Linked DNA regions of Homo sapiens: region 2 is linked to region 1. The links are contacts of gene promoters, found by promoter capture Hi-C in blood cells and fetal thymus (Javierre and others, 2016). All regions are on one chromosome and are shown on one strand. Each heading gives the region's core, a stretch centred on a gene start or on the middle of the fragment in contact. The rest is flanking DNA. Distances are from core to core; before and after follow the strand shown.

Evidence for each region. The method cuts DNA at HindIII sites, captures the fragments that hold promoters and counts their contacts. A CHiCAGO score of 5 or more calls a contact.
Region 2: a fragment that was not itself captured here is called in contact with the fragment with the promoter of TRH in region 1 in 1 of 17 cell types (neutrophils); the score reaches 7.5 in neutrophils.

What each region holds. Positions count from the first base shown.
Region 1 is chr3:129,972,449-129,977,084 of GRCh38, forward strand. It overlaps TRH (thyrotropin releasing hormone), which reads left to right and starts at 2,272. Exons shown (of 3, transcript NM_007117.5): 1 at 2,272-2,375; 2 at 3,361-3,579; 3 at 4,251-4,636. The coding sequence starts at 3,369. It also overlaps the pseudogene LOC124906284. The HindIII fragment of the contact is 1,305 bases long and covers 1,493-2,797 here.
Region 2 is chr3:129,458,132-129,462,767 of GRCh38, forward strand. It overlaps IFT122 (intraflagellar transport 122), which reads left to right. Exons shown (of 30, transcript NM_052989.3): 4 at 468-546; 5 at 3,097-3,173. Among named protein-coding and RNA genes, the nearest start is that of IFT122, 20 kb to the left of the region's middle. The HindIII fragment of the contact is 7,734 bases long and covers 1-4,636 here.

The DNA.
Region 1 (4,636 bases), core at 1,022-3,521:
CTTGAGCCCAGGAGTTTGAGGCTGCAGTGAGCTAGTGATTGTGCTGCTGCACTCCAACCTGGGCAACAGTGCAAGACCCCATCTCCAAACAATAACAAAACAAAACAAAAAGAACATAAGAGCCTGGCAGCCCATCTTCCTCACACTCCACAAATGGCAGCATCATATACACATAGTTCTCTACTCTGCTTCTGGGAGCTTATTCCACATGAGTGCATATGGAACTGCCTTATTCTTTTAAAGGCTGCATAGTACCCCACAGTTTTAGATGGGTCTTAGTTGACTTAAGTGTCCCCCTCCTGATGGACAGACATCCAGGCTGGTTCCAATTCTGGCTTGTATAAACCATGCTGCACTGAATACCCTGAGGTATACATTCTCATGTATATAGGTGGGAGTATCTGTATTATGAATTCTGAAAAACAGAATTGTCTCATGGAAGGTACATATGTGTTAAATTTTCAGATTGCCACCCAAAAGATTGGATCAATTTATACCCTCGTCATTGTGTACAAAAGACAACAGGTCTATCTGATTTCATCTTAGCTAGGGTGGCATTTCTTCAAATCCTGGAGTCTAGTTGGGAGACCAAGCCTGAGGTTTCATGTTTGCAGTGTCTCCCTCACTGCCTCTGAACTTTTTGAGGGCTGGGGCTGAGCCTCATTCACTTCTAGGCCTTCAGGACCTACCAAGGAGTCTGACACCATAGTGGGTGCTTGTTAAATGTTTAGAGATGGGCCGGGTGTGGCGGCTCATGCCTGTAATCCCAGGACTTTGGGAGGCCAAGGAGGAGGATTGCTAGAGTCTAGGAGTTCGAGACCAGCCTGGGCAGCATAAGAAGACTCCATCTCTACAAGAAATAATAATAAAAAATAGCCATAAAAATTATGGTGCCTGGCTGTAGTCCCAGCTACTTCGGAGGCTGAGGTGGGAGGATCCCTTGAACTGGGGAGGTCAAGGCTACAGTGAGGTCAGATTGCACCACTGCACTCCAGCCTGGGTGACAGAATGAGACCCTGTTTTAAAAAAAAAGTTTCAAGATGGAGGCAGTCCCCAGGGCTAGATGTGGCAGTCCCACATCTGGGACTTTGGGAACTGACTCGGGGGGCAAGCTCCTTGGCACCCATGTGTTTCTCCTCCCTGCTTCCCCTCCCCTCCTTTGCTAGAGTTGGGTGAACTCCAATAGATTCCTGTGCAGGGGCTGCAGACTCGAATGTCCCTCCTCAGTGACAGGGGCAACACATTGGAAGACATTAGGGAGTGGTGGAGACTGTGGTGGCCGAGAGCAGCCAGGCTCAGCTCCACCTGGCTGTTGACAGGAGGAAATGGGGGCCCATTCTTTTTCAAGAGAAGCCATAAATCCAAAATTTTCTAAGTTATCTTGGTTTTAAAATGTTGGTTATTCAGATTTTTTTCAAAACACTGTGGAAGTCAATCAAAATTGTCCATGAACTGGTTGTAGCCTACAGGCCGCCACTTTTGGAATTCTGAAAGCTTTCCTCTGGCTCCTATTACACAGAGGAGAAAACTGAGGCCCAGAGAAACGGAGGCACTAGCCAGGAATGACACAGTTAAGATTAGCACCCTGGAGCCTGCGGGGTGGCTCACGCCTGTAATCCCAGAGACGCAGGAGTCTGAGGCAGGAGGATGACTTGAGCCCAGGAGTTCAAGGCTGCAGTGAGCCGTGATCGCGCCACCGCACTCCAGTCTGGGGGACAAAGCGAGATCCCATCTCTTTAAAAAAAAAAAAAAAAAAAGTAGAGCTCCGCTCCCACTTGCCCCCCATTCTCTCTCTCTCTCTCTTTCTCTCTCTCTCTCTCTTGCTCTACTCTCGCCCGTCTGCGTTCTACATTGGTTCTGCGGCCGTGTCCCTTTCGTGTGTGTCTGCCCTGTGTTTCTCCGTCGTCTCCGTGTGGATCTCGGTCTTTGTCTCGCCCTCTAGCTCTCTCGTGCGCCTGTGTTTAATCGTGCGCTTCTCTCAATCTCTCTGTCCCTCCCTTTGCCCCCTACACGCGTGTTCTCGTCAACAGATCTCCAGAGGTGGTGCAGAAACGACCCCGCGCCGGCGCCCCATCCTGCGGCCAGTGCCTCCGCGCCCCGGCTCCGGTCCCCACCGTCCCCGCCCCAGATTTCCGGAGGAGCAGGCGGGCGGGGTCCCGCGGGGCCGGCTGCCGTCAGCGCCCCTTCCCGGCGGCCGCGACCCCTCCCCGCTGACCTCACTCGAGCCGCCGCCTGGCGCAGATATAAGCGGCGGCCCATCTGAAGAGGGCTCGGCAGGCGCCCGGGGTCCTCAGCGCTGCAGACTCCTGACCTGCCGACTGCGGATCCCGAGTCCCCGGATCCCGGACCCATCCTGTGGAGCCCACTCCTGGCAGGTAACCGCCCCAACCCCTCTCCTTCCGCAGACGGTGTCCGGGAGCACTGGAAAGGGAGCCCTCTCGGCCCGCCCTCACCTTCGGTTCTCTGAGAGCTTCCTGGAGAACAGGGCCGGTGCACAGGCGGGCGCTGTGCTCGCACCCCCGGGTCCTCCCCGAGCGCAGGCCGGGGACCCGACGGGAGGCACGGCGCGGGCACATCGGAGGCTCTCGCTGCTGGGCACTCAGGTCGCCAGAGTCCGCAGCGCGGGGTGGGAGCTCCGCGGCACCCCCTGCCTGGGTGCCGCCGGACAGAGCTGGGTATTCAGGGCGTCGGCCTGAGAACCTGGGAGTTCGAATCCCAATCTCAACGCTAGAAATAGAATTTTAGCGTTGAAGTTAGGATTTTAGCGTTAGAATCAGATTCCTGGCTTAGTCATGAAAGCTTAGCATTAGAAATAGAATCTTAGCTTTGCAAATAGACTTTGAGCTTTAGAACCTGAATCTTAGCGATAGAAATGGGATCTTCGCGTTGGAATGAGGACGTCGGCCACGGAGCTTGGAGTTAGAACGTGGCGATGGGGACCTTTGGGGGAGTCTTGGCGGGGACGCAACCGTTAGCGTCGCGGCTGTGCCTGGCGCTGCAATCTCAATGGTTGCACTCCCGGCGAGGCAGTCCCAGCGTTGGCTTCCCCAGTTCCGCGTCACATTGAAGGGTGGCGGTGGCGCTGGCGATGGGGTTCCTACGGCCTCCTGCCTTGCGCAAGCAGAACTGGGCGCAGGCACTACAGGCACCCGTGGGGGCGAGGACGCCTAGAGGTGACAGGTGTGGACGCAGAGCCGGGGCGAACCCGCCGCTGCTCCCGCCCCTGCACGAGGGGCAGTGGTCCTGCTTCTGGGAGGGCGGTTGAACTGTGCGTGGTTTGTTTCTGGCGGGCGTCGGGGGAGATGGAGCGGGATGTGCTGTGATTCGGTGCGCTCAGGCTCCCTCTGTCCCCTAACCCAGACGCCGCGATGCCCGGCCCTTGGTTGCTGCTCGCTCTGGCTTTGACCCTGAACCTGACCGGTGTCCCCGGCGGCCGTGCTCAGCCAGAGGCGGCCCAGCAGGAGGCAGTGACGGCCGCGGAGCATCCGGGCCTGGATGACTTCCTGCGCCAGGTGGAGCGCCTCCTCTTCCTCCGGGAAAACATCCAGCGGCTGCAAGGGGACCAGGGTGAGCACTCCGGTGAGTGGATGGGGCTGTTGGGGGCTGTGGGGCTAGGCTATTGGGAGAGCCGTGGAAACCTGCCGGCAAAGGGGAGGGGAGGCTTGGTCAGCTAGCCTTCTGCCTTTCGGAAGCTCAGAAACCCTCCCTGGCTGCGCCTAGGCGGGATCTGGAGTTGACCATTCCTCGGGGTCAGATTCCTCCCCTGTCTCAATGCTGGGAATATTTCACAGAGAGCAGGCCCTGGGTGGGGAAGCTTCTGTGTGCTAGGGAGAGAGTTTCTTTGTGTGTGACAGTTTGAATTACTACTGTCTAGGCACTTCTGTGCCAGACACTATTCCAAGCACTTCAAACACCTTATCACACTGTTTGATCTTCCTAACAACCTCTTAGTTAGGTACTGTTATTACGATTTTACACAGAAGAAAACTGAGGCTCCCAGAGATCAATTGAGTCGCTTATGGTCAGACAACTAGGGAGCGCCAGAGCTGGGATTGGAACCCAGAGGCAATGCCTTTGACTATTGTGTGAATGTGTGTATCTGTGAGGCCTGAGGGGCAGGTGCAAGACCATGCCTCTGAGTGGGAGCTGCAGGAAATGTACCCTGCCTGGGAGAAAAGCAGGAGTGGGCACTCAGGCGCCTGCCTATTACATGGGTCAGGGGCCCCTCACTGACCTCTTTCCTTCCCCAGCGTCCCAGATCTTTCAATCTGACTGGCTCTCCAAACGTCAGCATCCAGGCAAAAGAGAGGAGGAGGAGGAAGAGGGAGTTGAAGAAGAGGAAGAGGAAGAAGGGGGGGCTGTGGGACCCCACAAACGGCAGCACCCTGGCCGACGAGAAGATGAGGCTTCATGGTCAGTCGATGTAACCCAGCACAAGCGGCAGCATCCTGGCCGGCGCTCCCCCTGGCTTGCATATGCTGTCCCGAAGCGGCAGCACCCAGGCAGAAGGCTGGCAGATCCCAAGGCTCAAAGGAGCTGGGAAGAAGAGGAGGAGGAGGAAGAGAGAGAGGAAGACCTGATGCCTGAAAAACGCCAGCATCCGGGCAAGAGGGCCCTGGGAGGCCCCTGTGGGCCC
Region 2 (4,636 bases), core at 688-3,187, 510 kb before region 1:
ATAAAATACCACATTGTACTTCATAAGTAGATATAATTATTATTTGTCAAAAATAAAAATTTAAGTAAAAAAGTAAATCAGGTTCCCCAGTTATTCTCTTTCATAGGATCCGTGTCTTACCATGTTGTATTTGTGTTAGATTAATTTGATGTGTACTTCTTACACTAGACTGAACTTTATGAAAGTAGGGATCATGTGTGTTTTAATCATTACTTAATCCCTAGCATAGAACATGACAGCTACATGTAGTAGGCTCCCAATACATCTTTGTTTACTCAGTGTCAGACAAAGCAGGTTTGGAACCCAAATATTCTGACTCCAAGGTCCTGCCTCCCAGTACTGATAAGAACTAGGAAAGAAGCTAACACTTACTAGGTACCTTAAAGAACTAGTTTTCTAAAGAATTCTCTCTGGGAAATGCTGGTTTAAGATAAATGTAAGACTTTCCATTTTACAAACACTTTTAGGCAAGCGCTTTGCTTCTGGATCAGCTGACAAAAGCGTTATTATCTGGACATCAAAACTGGAAGGCATTCTGAAGTACACGTAAGTAACTTAGGTGTACAGTATTATGAGTTTGATGCTTATTGAATAATTGCAGCAAAAGCCTCTTAGAAAAGATGTAGGAGAAAACTTTTTTCTCTTAAATTGAACTTGAAATTAAGTTGTGGGTGTGTGTGGTTGGTATAGGAAGGTTGAGTAGTGAATAAGTTAATGAATATTTCTTGGCCACTTACTGGCGTGGCCAGCACTGGGCTAGGTGCTTTTATGTAGCTCATCTCAGTTCATCTGACATTGTAGACTTTATCCCACCCCCAACCTGTCATCTTCCAGTGTCCCTGTCTCAGAGAATGGCCTTATATCCACCCAGTGTCAAATGTCAGAAACTTGGGGTCAGTGTGCTCCAGGCCTCCTCTTACTATTGGGGATCTGCCGTGTTCTTCCCCTGTTCCTCTACTAGTTGGTCCCTATTTACCCTGCAGATCTCAGACTCAAATGTCAGTTTCTTTGTAAGGACTTTCCTGCCTCTCTAGACTGGAACAGGTCTCTTTCGAGGCATTTCTCACAATTGCAGTTTTAGGTTTATTCTGGTGACTGATCAGTATTGCTCATCGGCCTGTAAGTTCCATAAGAACAGATACTGCATCTATTTTTTGTTTTGTTTTGTTTTGTTTTGAGACAGAGTCTTGCTCTGTTGCCCAGGCTGGAGTGCAGTGGCACGATCTCGGCTCACCGCAAGCTCCACCTCCCAGGTTCACGCCATTCTCCTGCCTCAGCCTCCCGAGTAGCTGGGACTATAGGCGCTCACCACCATGCCAGGCTAATTTTTTGTATTTTTAGTAGAGATGGGGTTTCACCATGTTAGCTAGGATGGTCTCGATCTCCTGACTACATCTATTTTTTTTTTCTCACTCTTGTGTCCCTGATACAATGCCTAGCCCATAATTGGTACTCACCAATTTTCCTTCCTTCCTTCTTTCCTTCCTTCCTTCCTTCCTTCCTTCCCTCCCTCCCTCCCTTCTTCCTTCCTTCCTTCCCTCCCTCCCTCCCTTCTTCCTTCCTTCCTTCCTTCCTTCCTTCCTTCCTTCCTTCCTTCCCTCCCTCCCTCCCTTCTTCCTTCCTTCCTTCCTTCCTTCCTTCCTTTCTTTTCAGTCTTGCTCTGTCTCCCAGGCTACAGTGCAGTGGTAACTAGCTCACTGCAACTACAACCTTCCAGGCTCAAATAATCCTCTTACTTCAGCTTCCCAAATAGCTGGAACTGCAGGTGCACACCCCCACACCAGGCCAATTTTTAAATTTTTTTTTTTCTTGGTAGAGACAGGGTTTCACTTTGTTGCCTGTACTGGTCTTGAACTCCTGGGCTCAAGCAGTCCTCTCAAAGTACTGGGATTACAGATACGAGCCACTGCACCTGGCCTCTTTTCAATTGTGGTAAAATATACATGACATAAAATTTATCATATTAACTACTTTTTAAGTTTACAGTTTAATGTTAAATACATTTACATTGTTGTGCAACCAATCTCCCAAACTCTTTTATCCTGCTAAACTAAAATTCTATATCCTTCAAATACCTACTCACCCTTCTCTCCTACCCCCAGCCCCTGAAAACCAGCATTCTACTTTCTGTCTCTCTGAGTTTGACTGCTTTACATACCTCATATAAGTAGAGTCATACAATGTTTGTTCTTTTGTGGCTGAGTTATTTCATTTCACGTAATGTCCTCAAGGCTCATCTGTGTTGTAGCATGTGTCAGAATTTACTTTCTGTGTTGTAGCATGTGTCAGAATTTACTTCCTTTTTTTTCTTTATTATTATTTTTTTTTATGAAGACGAGGTCTCACTATGACTCCTGAGCTCAAGCAATCCTTCTCCCTTGGCCGCCCAAACTGCTGGGATTACAGGTGTGAGCCACTGGGCTCAGCTTCCTTCCTTTTTAAGTCTGAATATTATTCCATTGTATATATAGACCACATTTTCTTTATCCATTCATCTGTTGATGGACACTTGTGTTGCTTCTGCTTCTTAGCTATTATGAATAATGCTGCTATGAACATGGGTGTACAAATCAACAAACAATTTTTGAAGGAATGAATGAATGAGTGAAGTTGTAAGTAAAGTATTACCCACAAGTGAAGGACTAAAACGGGTTGAGACGCCTTGCATGGTACATGATTTGCTCAGCTTTCATTGTTGTCTAAGGATTTGTCATGTTTCCAGATCTTGGTCTGTGATGTCTTCATTGCACCTCCATCTTCCATTTCTGGGCCTCCACAAAACAGTAAGAGTAACAGCCACAGATAAAGCACCTAAAGGCCAAGGTGGGAGGATTGATTGCTTGAGGCCAAGCGTTCAAAACCAACCTGGCCAAAAGTGAGTCCCCATCTCTACAAATAAGAAAACAGTGGGTGAGGAGAAGGAGAATTAATTCTTTAGGAGTAGGAGAATTAATTTCTGTGCTTTTTGTTGGTCACTTGCAGAAGAGCATGTGGTCTAAAGTCAGAGGCTGTGGGCTCATTATTAAAATCTTCAGTTGTAGCCACTGAAATCTTTGTGGTTTGCTGCATAGTAATCTACAGTTGTTTACTTCCCAGGCACAATGATGCTATACAATGTGTCTCCTACAATCCTATTACTCATCAACTGGCATCTTGTTCCTCCAGTGACTTTGGTACGTTCTGATTCCTGATGTCCTGTCCTGGAATAACTGAAAATCTGGGCTAAAAATGCTAAAATGCATTCAGAATATGGTGATTTTATCCTGAGAGAGTTAATACTACTTCTCTACCTTCAATGGCTGAGGGGAGGCTGACAGTTATTCTTTAAATTGTGTGGAAACCAAGACAGTGAATGGTGACCTTTACTCTGGTAAGACATCAGAGACTACAGGAAGGGCCCCAGCAAAGGAAATGGTAACAAGATTGGGAGGGCACAGGCATAACTTGGTGTTGCTGCCTTTGGGAAGCCTTCCCTTGGTGTTGCTGCCTCTGGGAAGCCTTCCCTGACTCACCCTGGCAGAGACAGTGCAGTTGTCCTCACCTTTGTATTGACCCACATCTATGTTTATGTGAAATTCTTCACTGTTGCGGTTCTACTTCTTGTGCAATTTGTCGTCATTACTGGTTTAGGTGGCTGTAGCTGTCCTCCCTGAGGGGCTGAACACCTTGAGGAGTTCATCCTGGCCACGGTCCCGTGCCAGCATTACAGCACTGGTGTAGTACTGGCACAAAAGAGGTGTCAGTAAAATGTCTGTGGAGGGAGGAAGGGAGTGAAATTGGGCAGAGGCTTGTAGGTTATTTCCATTAATGGTTGATTCTGTTTTCAGCTCTATCAGTCTGTGTTCGTTGCTAGTGGATACAATGAAGTCACTAGATGAGGAGTCAGAGGCCTAATCCCTCTCAGTGTTCCAGTTCCCTTATCTAAAAGGAGCATGCTACTCACTGTGTCTCACTGATACGGTTCTGGTTCTGAGGTTCAAAAGAGAGAATGGAATTGAAAGCCAATTGTATAAATACATGGAGAAAGGCCTGTCATTTGTTTAACATATTTTATAGCATTTTCTTCATGTGAAGCACTGGTCTGTGTGCTTACACTGGAATATTAAAAAGGCAAAATAGAATCCCTACCCTCAAGGAGCTTGTGGTCTTAGGAGAAGGTGGGATTAAAAAAAATATAATATTAAGTACTAGTATTTATTGAATGCTTGCAGTGTGCTAGGCACTGTTCTAAGGATTAGAAATGAATTTCTATTTGAGCTTTATGACAGCCCCTGAGGTGTCAGGTATTATTCTCATTCCCACCCTACTGATGAAAAAGAGGTAGAGGTCCCTTAGCTAGTAAGTGGAGGAACCAGGGCTTGGACTTTAGACCAGGTGATTGCATACAGAGCCTGCTCTGCTAAGCACTGCTGAAGGAGGCCCAGGAGGAAGGAGTTTCTTCCAGCTTGGGGCTCCAGGCAGGCTTAGTGGAACACAGATAACATGTGCACACGTCAAAATGTTTGGAGGAAGCGTTCTGGACCAGGGGAAAGGCAAAAAATAACTTGTTTGATGTTGCACTTGGCCATGTATTTGTGCACTGGAGTTACCTTCTTGATTGTACTTCGCAACTTGGCAAATAGAAGAATTTGCTTAT